2 separate regions of the Homo sapiens genome follow, and region 2 is linked to region 1. Evidence: promoter capture Hi-C in 16 types of primary human blood cells and fetal thymus (Javierre and others, 2016). All regions are on one chromosome and are shown on one strand. Each heading gives the region's core, a stretch centred on a gene start or on the middle of the fragment in contact. The rest is flanking DNA. Distances are from core to core; before and after follow the strand shown. Region 1 holds the start of NEK10 (NIMA related kinase 10). Region 2 overlaps CMC1 (C-X9-C motif containing 1).

What was found. The method cuts DNA at HindIII sites, captures the fragments that hold promoters and counts their contacts. A CHiCAGO score of 5 or more calls a contact.
Region 2: a contact is called between a fragment that was not itself captured here and the fragment with the promoter of NEK10 in region 1, in 16 of 17 cell types (naive CD4 T cells, naive B cells, monocytes and 13 more). The highest score is 13.3, in naive CD4 T cells.

Annotation. Positions count from the first base shown.
Region 1 is chr3:27,368,057-27,370,756 of GRCh38, forward strand. NEK10 (NIMA related kinase 10) reads right to left here and starts at 1,327. Exons shown (of 36, transcript NM_001394966.1): 1 at 1,169-1,327. RefSeq lists an enhancer at 585-1,085. The HindIII fragment of the contact is 2,054 bases long and covers 1-1,534 here.
Region 2 is chr3:28,288,306-28,291,005 of GRCh38, forward strand. The region is part of intron 2 of CMC1 (C-X9-C motif containing 1); the gene reads left to right. Among named protein-coding and RNA genes, the nearest start is that of CMC1, 48 kb to the left of the region's middle. The HindIII fragment of the contact is 1,906 bases long and covers 375-2,280 here.

The DNA.
Region 1 (2,700 bases), core at 77-2,576:
CTGAGGCGGGTGGATCACCTGAGATCAGGAGTTCGAGACCAGCCTGACCAACATGGTGAAACCCCTTCTCTACTAAAAATACAAAAATTAGCCAGGCGTAGTGGCTCGCGCCTGTAATCCCAGCTCTCTGGAGGCTGAGGCATGAGAATTGGTTGAACCCGGAAGGCGGAGGCTGCAGTGAGCTGAGATCGCTCCACTGCACTCCAGCCTGGCAGCACAGCAAGACTCCTTCTAAAAAAGGAGTCTTTTTTAGAAGGACTCCATATATATATATATACACATATATATATATCAGTTCAACAATGGTGGGGAAAAAAGTGGATTGGATAGATAGGGCCAGACTAGAATCGGAGAAGCCAGATGGGTGTTGAATTTAACCAACCGATGGTGGAAATTGAGACAGTAAAAATAGAGATGGTAATGTGGGAATTGATTCAACACCTATTAAGAAGGGATAGTCTTGATAATTGATAGAGATGCAGAGGAAGCAGCAGTAAGTGTCATGGATGTCGTCTAGAGTGTAGTTTTTGAAAGCTGAATGGATAGTGATGCCCAAAATAGGGAATCCAAGAGCAGCAGCAGACATGGGGAAGATGGCGTTCAGGGTTGCACATGTGTGGCGTTAACTTGGCAGCTGGATTTTGGGGTCTGACAGTTAGTAGAGCAGGCTAGGTTCCAGTTGGAGACTTTCTAATCATCGTCAGATAGATGGTGCCTGAGGCGAGGAAGTGGAAGGGCTCACCGAAGTAGGGCAGAAAAGCAGAGGGGCAAAGTCAAAGCAGCATCCTGTAAGGAGAAGGCAGAAAAGCGACGCTCATAGAGATGAAGAATGAACCTCCAGAGGCGTCGGAGCAGATTGGAAGAGACACATTCAGGCTCCATTTAACCAGAATAATTCCGTTATCAAAATGGAAGCGCCAAGAAGCATCGTTGATGGCGCTTTCCCACCATCCATCCGTCCAACACAAACCCACCTGCTTTGAAAAGACTGCCTCACGCAGTGACTCACTTACCCACCACAGCCGCATTCTCTACCTCTGCCTCTTGTCTAGTGAAGCTGGCTCCCGAGGCTTCGGGGCCGCTCCACAGGGACCTGAGGACGTCTCCCCGGAGACCCTGACTCAAGCTGCTCGCCGGCACAGCCGAGCACCGGCTCCCGCCTACTCACCGCGCGGGAGGGACGGTCCCTCCTTCAGGCCAATCTCCTTATCATTGTCCCTGCTGCTGTCACCTGCTGCTGCAGACCGGGGGTCCCGTCCAGTCTCAGCCCGTCCCGTCCTCCCCCCAGCCTATTCCCGGTCCCCTCAACCTCAGGGACACCGCGGCCAGCTGCACCGTTGGTTTTCCAATCAAATCCTCCTCCAGGCCACCAACCAGCGCTGGCCAGGCCAATGCCGACAATTCTTCCTCCGCCACCTGGGGCGCCTCAGCCAATCGGGAGCAGCCATGCTGCGCAGTGCAGAACGCCATAGCGACGGATGACGCCTGCCGGGGAATCGCCGTAGCAACCAGAGACGCGCTAGATCCACCACCAAGCTTGCAAGCAGAAGAGGCAGCAAGTGATGCTGAAGGCTGTGCTGCAGCCACTTCACCGGAACCTAGAGCTACCTGTGAACAGGTCTCCTACACGTTGAAGATTTTTCTGGATTTAGGGTGTCTAACCTTTGATGGGAAAGGGCAGCTTCATCTTGGAGTGTTTACTTTCAAGAATTGCTATGGGCTAAAAATCAATTCTCTTTAAAAGCAAAGATTTAATCTGATAAGGAATCAATGCAGCATGCTAAATACCTTTCATATGGCATGAAAACGTCTTCAGTTACTCAAGCCACAGGCAATGAGAATAAGGTGCCACAGCACCGTATTTTTCACAAAAAGAGTGACCTGGGATTCAAGAAACCTGTATAGTATAACTATCGCCAGTTCGTTTTGTGGCTTTGGGCAAGTCACTTCACCTTTTGTGAAAGTCTGGAGCTTCTTTAAAATTTCTGAACTGCATTAGATAACGCTTTAAAAATATACCTGACATTCTGTAACTTTAAATAAATGAAAAATGCCAATCTATTAAGTGCTTAATTTTGTGCCGGGCACGATTTCAAATTCTTTCCTTATTTCACTTAGTTATAAAATGGAGGCACAAGAAGTTTCCTAAGTAGTCCAGTATGGCAGAGCTAGTGATGGAGTCAGGGTAAAACCTACTTCGAGTCTGGTCTTAACCACGATGATGCTCCTTCGACGATTTCTTCGAGTACTGGGCCCTGTTCAACCTCATCTTGGTATCACTAAACGCTCGTGTGTGTGTCTGGTGGTTACATCTTCCCAAACTGGATTTTAAATGAATACAGTGAACCCTAACGTTTTTCTGGTGTGGATAGTAAGTAGGCCCATTGGATTAACAATACTTAAGCTTGGGTAATTGAAAGCATTTTTTAAAATGAAGACGGTCCTATTTTGGAAATGCAGAAAGGCGAGATGAAAGCCAAACTCTGGTGAGTATAGCAGAACTAATTAAACTTCAGAGATCTAAAACAATCAGGATTAATGTTACCAATAAAACAAAACAAGGTGACGGGGCAGGAAGACCGATGCTGAGTAGAAAAAGTATTCTGTACATACATTCTAAATGTTAAGCAGTCGGCCTGGCTTGGTGGCTCACACCTGTAATCCTAGCACTTTGGGAGGCCGAGGCAGGAGGACCACTTG
Region 2 (2,700 bases), core at 78-2,577, 920 kb after region 1:
ATTATGAGCCAAGTGATATCAAATAATTTAATAAAATTATATATTTTGACGTGTGTAAATACATCTACTTTATCTCCATCTTGTGGTAGAAGTATCTGAAAATCCTGTTAAGAATATCATTAAAGCTTATTCATTTTTACATTGACTTATCCTTGCTCTTTCTCATTACCGTAAATGTAACATTAAGTGTTAAATGTTTCTTTAGGAAATTTTGGGTCTTACTAAAGGAGCCAACTGAAAATAATTTTAGGTTTTATAGTTACTATTGAAGGTAAATGTACAACTGCAACTGCCACATTTTGACTGTGTGTTGGAATATTAAAACAAGGAATATAAACATTTAAATCATAGTTGAGAGGAAAAACAAAAAAGAAAGCTTTAGCTGCTTCATTGCAAATGTAGCTTTGTGTTGTTAAAGAGGATTATGATGAATACATTTGTGTGATAAATTTATAAAGTTTGATAAATTGTTTCATACTGACTAATATTTTTTATAATTTTTATTTTTATAATTTTTTAAAGTATACTCACAGTCCTTTTGTGGATAATTATGATTGTAAGAATATTTTTGCAAGTAAATGAAAAAGTGATTATTAAAACACTTTGTAAACTGTAGCATTTTATACAAATACATAATCTTATCTTTTAAAAATATATAATATGAAATATTTGGTTGGGAAGACCATCTCAGAGGTTTAAAAACATATTTCCAATCAGGTCTATTTGTATCATTCTTTTATTTTCTTTTTATTTTTTTGATGAGTTTCTTTAAATATATTTTTAAAATTTTATGTTCTTTGAGGTTTTTTTTAAGTTTTTGAATTAAGACTAATACAGTCTGCAAAGCAGTATTAATTTAGAGTTATGTTTCAATATAGAAAAGTCTCGATGAGTGCTCTAAAAATTCTGAAAGAATTTTTTTAGTTAAATTCTAAGATTTCAGGAAGAATTTTGTGTAGCAAATAAACTTTAGCTAGGTATCATTTAGATAGTTTCTTTTTAAAATTCGTTTTGTTTATCTTACTAAGTATTGGGGAAGGAATAGTCTGTGAAATGGAAACACCTAAATTATTTATTAAAAGATATTCCAAGTAGGTAGTAAGATATAAAAGCCGAGTATAACATGAGATATTTGTAGGACAATGAGAAGGTTAGTTTAATTATATAAAACAATTTAGTTGCCATTTAGGGTCGTATTTTGGTGCTCCTTGAAAGCCAGGCAAAGAATTTTAGAAGTCATATAATAGAAAACAGGGATTTTTATGCTGCAAAGATCTTTATTTAGGGAGAAAGTCTGTGATCTCAGAAACTTAACGTTAGATGAAGCCTGTGAGGTTAACTACTACCAATGCAGGAATCTTTCTAACAATATGTGAGACTTCATTTTCAATACCTCTACTCTACTTCAGGCTTTCAGTATTTACTTCCTTTTTGCATTTTATTGTTGTGGGGGAAAACAACATCATGCTTTTAATAAAAAGGATATTCAATTTATGTAAGTAATGTAGAAAATATAAAATGCATTCCAAAAATTACTCTAAATTCTACCATTCACAAAGACAGACATCTCTCTGGGAACAAAAGGATAATACAAAGGGATTATATTATATACACTACTTTTTTAGTGGAATTTATAAAACAAAAGATTTGCTAAAGTTTATGTAAATGTTTCTTGATAAAAGGTTACTTGCCTCCATTACAAGAAAACATATGAAACCCACTGACAAGTTTGAGTGATTATGTTTTAACTCCATATTCTAATTTTGAACAGTATTGAGTGATTCCCTTGTATGAAAGTACAGTTATACTTCCCCCACCTTTTCTCTTTCAGGTCCCAGTTTCTGTAAGTTGTAATTTTACATTGTCATAATTTATAATACTTATATTCTTGTCTGTAACCATAAATCCAGTGCTCATCACATTTTGTCTTTAAAAATTTTTTTTTGATCTGTTGCTTGATTTTATTGCCAATAGTTAATTTAATAAGAGTCTTTGGGTTCTAGAATCCTTGATATCTTTCATGGTTGGGAATGACTGCTTGTTGCCTAATAGATTTGTGACATGTAGAGTGGATATAATATTGTCAGGTCGTATTTTCTGTACCTCAGAACTTTGTAGATACACATTGCATCAGTATTTTATGACATTAAATGTTGCTCTGGGAAGTCTGAGAGCAGCCTGATTTTCATCCCCACCCCACCTTGCAATCATCCTACCATAGGTGACGTGATTTTTCTGGTTGGATCCTAGAAGAATTCTTTCTGTATCCTTGAGTTTGGAAGCTTAACTGTGATATATCTTGTATCAGTTCTTTCTGGAACATACTGTGCCCTTTTGGTTTGTACATTTTTTTTAATCAGAAAACTTTTCTTAAATTATAATTGAAAATGTTTTTTGTTTCCTTTTTCTGGGGGAATTTTTTTCCTCAGAGATAACCAATCATCCTTGGAACTTTAAAACGAGGATTAACATTTGATGGTATTTACTGCATAACTAATTATTCCAAAATGTAGTGGCTTAAAAGAGCACATATTTATTAATCTCATAGTTTCTGTGAGTCAGGTATCTCGGTATGACAACTGGGTCTTCTGCTTCAGTTTCTCACAAGGCTGCAATTAATGTGTTGGCTAAGGAGGGTCTGTGGTCTCATCTGAAACCTTGACTGGGGAAGCATCTGCTTTGAAGGTCACTCATGGTTGT